Regions from separate parts of the Homo sapiens genome. Here region 1 is linked to region 2. Evidence: promoter capture Hi-C in 16 types of primary human blood cells and fetal thymus (Javierre and others, 2016). All regions are on one chromosome and are shown on one strand. The core of a region is centred on a gene start or on the middle of the fragment in contact, and the rest is flanking DNA. Distances in the headings are between cores, read along the strand shown.

The links. The method cuts DNA at HindIII sites, captures the fragments that hold promoters and counts their contacts. A CHiCAGO score of 5 or more calls a contact.
Region 1: the fragment with the promoter of TMCC1 here is called in contact with the fragment with the promoter of CHCHD6 in region 2 in 2 of 17 cell types (non-activated CD4 T cells and naive CD4 T cells); the score reaches 7.4 in non-activated CD4 T cells.

The regions. Positions count from the first base shown.
Region 1 is chr3:129,892,002-129,895,136 of GRCh38, forward strand. TMCC1 (transmembrane and coiled-coil domain family 1) reads right to left here and starts at 1,710. Exons shown (of 7, transcript NM_001017395.5): 1 at 1,493-1,710. TMCC1-DT (TMCC1 divergent transcript) reads left to right here and starts at 1,870. Exons shown (of 3, transcript NR_037893.1): 1 at 1,870-1,926. RefSeq lists enhancers at 292-1,084, 1,085-1,876 and a silencer at 1,238-1,967. The HindIII fragment of the contact is 6,422 bases long and covers 1-3,135 here.
Region 2 is chr3:126,702,316-126,705,709 of GRCh38, forward strand. CHCHD6 (coiled-coil-helix-coiled-coil-helix domain containing 6) reads left to right here and starts at 1,925. Exons shown (of 8, transcript NM_032343.3): 1 at 1,925-2,084. The coding sequence starts at 1,998. RefSeq lists enhancers at 1,505-1,564, 2,625-3,176 and a silencer at 2,115-2,314. The HindIII fragment of the contact is 1,689 bases long and covers 1,304-2,992 here.

The DNA of each region.
Region 1 (3,135 bases), core at 460-2,959, 3.2 Mb after region 2:
TTCTGCAAGGTGTCCCAACACTGTCAGCGGTCTGTGCTTCTGTTTATCTTAAGATGCAAATGCTCTGAGAAATCTCATTCTTATACACAGTACACAGCACCTACACCATACCAAATCTTAATCAATGCTCATAATTATAACAGTTCTACATCACATGCTAATGAATTTTTAACGTCTAAAATTTTCCTATGCTGCTGATCAGCAATCTATAAGCAGCTCAAAACTCTTCAGAAATTAAAAGGTTACCACCCACAGACCAGAAGCAGCTTTTTAATCTTTCTACACTAGCCAGAGAGTGGGTGATTGCAAAAAAATACAAGCCAACTCTGTTGGTAGAGGACAGGGTTATTAAGTTAAAATCCCATCTATAAGCATCGTTTTGTCACATGACACTAGTAAAACTACCACCTACTCACAATTTGAGTTTCAATCTCCTAATATACAGAGAAAAAAATGTATCTACCTCCTGGAACAAATCAAAGTTTTGTTTTATTTTAAAGCAGCTATCTGATATTTATGCCCTGGATTTTTTTTTTTTAAGAACAGAATAAGCTAATTTAGGAATTCACACCTTTCGTAGAGATGCTTATGGTACAGGTACCTCTGACGGCTAGGCTCTACCAACACTAACGTGTAACGTGTCACAAAAGCCAACGGGCGTTGCGGGGGCCGGGGGTAGCCAACAGCTCAAGTGGGCTGCTTCACTCCGTGGCAGATTCACCTGGGGATTCCTCACCAAGAATGTTGTTAAGGGACGAACCAAACCAACCACAAATGATACCCCTTTACCGAGGCTGAAAAAGCAGAGATTCGCAAGCTATAAACGAATCTCTGGCCCTTTAGGGAAGGTGCAACTCGCTGCACCTCTTTCCCCTATCCTACAGGGGTTAACAGGGGGCATCCTGAGGCCGAGACCAAGCCCAGCCAGCTCCTCCTCACATCCCACCTCCCACTACATATTCTCCCCAGTACGCCGGGCTCCCTCCTCCCCTCGAAAGACAGTTCAAAATCAAAACAATAGGTGCAAAACTGGTTTCAGGTGGAAATGGCTGAGTCCTGGTGGCTAACTTCTGGGACGCCATGGCGATCGAGGGCTCCTAAAACCCCAGATTCCGACGGGAACCGGCTCCTAAACAGTCCCTCGGGCCTCGGCCCGACTTCTCACACGCCCCTCCCTCACCTCGGCCCTGGGATGCTGGGAAGGGAACGAGGCGAGGGGCTGGAGGGGAACCCCAGGTCAAAATGACAGCGGAATGAGCCGGGAAAGGAAAGAGGCCCCGTGGGATGCTGGGGGTCGAGTCCTAGGCCCGGGGCTTCAACCTCGAACGGGGGCGACGGCAGGTCCCAGCCCCGACAGGCCGCGAGCGGGAGGCCAGGCCCGCGTCCGCTGCGCCGCCAGGCCACGCTCCCTCACGACTGTCCCCACCCACCGCGGAGGGCCGTGAGGGGGCCGCGACCGCCGCCAGCGTCCGGGGCGGGGGCGCTCACTCACCGGCGGGGAGGGGAGGAGCAGCCGGCGTCTCCGCCAGCGCCGTCGCTCGAGCTCAAGCGCCTGCTCCTTCCACTGCGGCCGCCGCACCCGGTCCATCCCCCACAACCACCCCCCCCTCCCGACCCTCCCCCCGCGCCGCCTCAGCCGCCGCCGCCTCAGTCACCGCCACCGCCGCCGCCGCCTCAGCCCCGGCGCGGGAGGGCGAACCGGCGCGAGAGAGCGAGCGCGCGCGCGCCCCCGCCACAGCCGCCACCGCCCACAACCTCCGCCCCCGGCCGGCGGCGCACGCGCAAGGGAGCGGGCGGACGGGCGCGCGCACGCCGCAGGGGCGGGGATGGGCCCTGGAAGGCGTGGCCCCTCCCCTAGCCCGCCTTCCCACGCGGTCTCTGGGCTGGTTGAGCTGCGCCGCTGCAGGTAGTGCTGAGTTGCTCCAGGTAAGCTCCTCCTCTCAAAAAGCTCTAGGAACCGAGCCACCCTCGCCCTAGGAGCAACGCCCCTGAGTAATATGGGGTTTCGTCGGATTTCTGCCCGCCGCTCTGGATCACACGTTTGTTCTCCCTATTTGAGTCGCAAGGCCTTCCTTCATTCCACCTAGCAGGCTGCTTGGAAAAGGGCAGAGACTCATTACTTTGCACCAGGTATTACCACTGAAGGGATTGTAAGCAGCCACCAGCCCATCCCTTTATAATTCCCATTTTCCTAATTTATTTTATTTTTATTACTTATGTAATGAGGCTTCTTCCGTGTTCAAGGAGCTGGGAGTACCATATGGGGTCAACGGAGTCCCTGGTCTCATGAAGTTTGAGATCTGGTGGAGAAGGAAAACATTCATGGGAGAATCAGACAAAATTAAGTTTTCAATTAGTAAAAATCTTCTGAGAGGTATATGGTACTAAGAGAATCTTTATGGGGGAATTGATTTAGTTGAGGATGAAGAGGGTAGAATCTGAGGAATTGAGTTGGGAGGAGTTAGTTGCTCCAAGGGGTGAGGTCTTGGCATGGCCAGAATGGGGAGCGCTAAAGAATATTGAATGTGGAGTAGACTGCGAGTGTGGGAAGAGGTAGGCGAGAACAGGTGAGGATTGGGGACCTATTTATTTATTTATTTATTGAGACAGAGTCTCACTCTGTCACCCAGGTCACCCAGGCTGGAGTGCAATGGCTCGATCTCAGCTCACTGCAACCTCCGCCTCCTGGGTTCAAGCGATTCTCCTGTCTCAGCCTCCGGAGTAGCTGGACTACCAGCGCACGCCAGCGCACCTGGCTAATTTTTGTATTTTTAGTAGAGATGGGGTTTCGCCATCTTGGCCAGGCTGGTCTGGAACTCCTGACCTTGTGATCTGCCCGCCTCGGCCTCCCAAAGTGCTGGGATTGCAGGCATGAGCCACCACACCCGGCCGGATTTGGGACTTTAATCTGAGTGCTTGGTAGAAGCTATTCAGGTTTTTTTCAGCAGGGTTGCAGGGGAAATAACTTGATCATTATGTCTGTTTTTTGTTTTTGAGAGGCAGACTGGAGTGCAGTGGCGCGATCTCGGCTCCCTGCAATCTCTGCCTCCCGGGTTCAAGTGATTTTCCTGCCTCAGCCTCCCTAGTACCTGGGACTACAGGTGCACGCCACTGCACCCAGCTAATTTTTTTAGT
Region 2 (3,394 bases), core at 675-3,174:
GACATCAAACAACCTAATTTTATATCTCAAGGAACTAGAAGAGGAACAAACTAAGCCCCAAAGTCAGCAGACTGAAGGAAATAAAAAAGATGAGAGCAGAAATAGAAACTAGAAAAACAACAGAAAAGATCAACAGTAAAGATCAACAAAATTAACAAACCTTAGCTAGACTAACCAAGAAAAAAGGTAATTCACATAAACAAAAGTATAAATGAAAGAGGAGACATTACAACTGATATCACAGAAATACAAAAGATCATAATCAACTACTATGAACAATTATACACCAAGAAACTGGATAATTTAGGAGAAATGGACGAATTCCCAGAAACATACCATCTATCCAAACTGAGTCTTGAAGAAACAGAAAATCTGAACAGACCAATAACGAGTAAGGAGATTGAATTAGTAATCATAAACCTCCAAGGAAAAGAGACAAAGGAAAGCCCAGGACCAGGTCTGACCACATCTTTACTCAGTTTTCCCCGCGGCCCCCGGTCCCCACCCCTCTTAGCCTGTCTCCCTAACTTCCTTTCTCCTGAGGTGCTCCCCCAGGAAACTCCTTGCACCAGAATCCCCTACGCAGGCTCTGCTTATAGGGAAGAAATGGACGACAGAGGTGATGGAGTGGGGTGCGCCAATGAAGTATTTTGAATGAAACTAGCAGACACCTTTGTTCCTAAAGATTCCATCGTCACACCAGCTCTGGGATGTTTACTAGCTTCTTCACCCTGAGCTATTCTCAATCTCAGAGCCTTACTGCTCTCTCTCAATCATTCTCTCCTCCTCACCCCTTTCTTTCCAGGTTGCCAATAGGAGCTCCAAATATTTTCTGGCTATTTCATGTAGCCATCTAGTTTTCCTCAGCTCGGCTTCAGGCGCACTTTTGCAAATCAAAGCCATTCAGCAACTCAGAGGAACAAAAAGGGGCTTATTTGAAGGTAGCAGTGTCTATGACTGGCAACCGTCTGTGTGCTCCCTTACACATAGGGTCCTGTGTAAGAAGCCTACACACAATGCCTGGCACACTGCACTCCACACATGGTATGTACACTCCTTGGGCAATGCCTCCTAACGGCTTAGGACCATTCCCTGTCCTCCCGGGGCGTTTAGAATAAAACCCACACTCAGACCCTGCCTCACAAGACCCGACATGATTTGGGTCCTCACCACTCCTCTGCCCTCTTCTCACTTTCCAGCCATGGGATGACCCCTCTTTCTCTTTTCCTGCCTGAGACTCCCAGGAAACCTCTTCCCCTACCTTTTTCTACATAAATCCTACTCTCCCGCCGGCTCAGTTCAAAGCTTCTTCCTCAGAGGTTGCTCTGGCCACTGAAATTAAAAGAGGCCTCCTTCTGTTCATTTTACTAGTGGCATCGCCATGCAGTTTTCCGTGTATTACAGTCAGTTTCCTTGCGTGCGTGTTTGGCTTTTCACTTGTTTTCCCCTTGCACTGTAAACCTCTCAAGGGCAGGACACTCGCTGTCTTGAGGGGCGCTGTAATGCCAGGGCCAGGTCCCTGCTCGTCTGGCGCTCAGCCCGTGCTGCTCTACACGTGTTTGCTGAATGAATGGAGCAGTGAACCCTCAGAAATTCGCCTCCAGATGAGCGCCTTGGCCGTCTCGGCGTCTCCTGGCCTCAGAACATCACCCTTGGCTCTCCCTCAAGGGGGAGCTCCCAAAGCGAGAACGTGACCCTGTCCTGCACCCAGCCCTCCACTCCAGGGCCTCCGCCGGTACACATCTTCGGCCTCAGCCTAACGCACTCTAGCAGGCACAGACCGCCACGCCCCCACCCCTCCAGACGGAAGGACTGCAATCCCCACAAGGCACCGCGACTCAGCGCCACCCGATTGGTGAAGCCTCTGGCGTCGGCCAATAGGACGTGGCTTTGTTGGCGTGTGCCGCGGCCGCGCGAGTCCTGGAAAGCGTTGTTGGCCCGGTTGCTCTGGAGCCGGGTCTCGGGTCTGGTGGCTGCCGGCCCTGCGGCATCTCGCCATGGGGAGCACGGAGAGCAGCGAGGGCCGCAGGGTGTCCTTCGGAGTGGACGAGGAGGAGCGGGTCCGGGTGCTGCAGGGTGTCCGGGTGAGCGGCGCCGCCTGGGCCGGGGCGGGCGTGGAGGCCGCGGGCGCGGGGGGGAGGTGCGGGGCGGAGCGCAGGGCCGGGGCTCTTTCCACGCGTGAGGGGCGTGGGGCTTGGGAGACTCCGGGGGCTCAGGCCAGGAAGAGGCTGAGCCGAGACGCGAGCCCGAGGCTGGCAGCCTTGGAGCTTCGCGACATGGGCTTCAGGGAAGGAGGAGTGAAGAACTGTACAGGTGCGAGGCCCCTGGGACACGAGGGACGCCCTGGCCACGTCCTGGCTCCGGTCGGCTTAGTTTTTACGTTTCTTGAATTTGCGCCCGGCCTCCCAGCCCGTGGCCCCTCAGGTGCGCGCATCTCGTTCTGGGTACGCGGTGTCTCCCACCTGGGCTTTGCCTGGGGACTCAGCTCTTCCCCGCCGGCCTGTTCTCCACAGCACATCTGCGGGGCGCAGGAAGAACCATAGCTCAGATCTGATCCCCTTCCTTGCCTGAAACCCTCCAGTGGGTTCCTAGCGCGCTTGGATGATGCCTTCCCTGGTTCCAAAGCTGGCCGCTGCCCGTCGACCTCTGGGGACTGCATCCCTCTGGGACTGCATCTCGTGCCATTTCCCTCGCGTGGCACCCGCACCTCGTCCCCAGCCTCAGGACCGCCGTGTTTTCCTGGAGGGTGCCGCTGGCTCAGCTCAGGGTCTGTGCGCCGGCTGTTCTCTCTCCTTCAGCTCTCCTTAAATCCCGCTGTTTCTTGTAATTCTTGTTGTAATTCAGATATCACCAGAGAATCCTTCCCTGACCACCCAATCTGAAGTAACCTCCCACCCCGCGTCCAACATTTATTATTTTCATAGCACTCATCACAGTGATCGCTTCTGTTGATAATTGTTTACTTGTTTATTGCGTTTACTGCTAGAGTGTAAGCTTTTTGAGGCTAAGGTTCCTGTCTGATTGAAGACTGTCCCCAGAACCCAGAAGAATAAAAGCAGCTCTTATTGCAGTGTAGGGGCCATGCGTTGGACTAAACCCTTTATAAGTTAACTGATTTAATTTTCAACAGCCCTATTTAGCCCATTATTGTAGATTAAGGAGAAGTGAGGCACTGAGAGGTGAACGAACTGATCCAAGATCATGTAAATAGTAAGTGGGAGAGCTGGGATTGAAACAAGCCAATTCCAGGGCATGTTGCTGTGCTCGGCCTCTTCCTCCACCTGTGTCTACACCTGCAGGTGCTTTGTAAGTAACTGTGGAGAGATGAATGAACCCAGTAAAAGGGACTAGGATTAAATGAAACGCACAGAGCTGGGTGTAGATGAATTAGTTA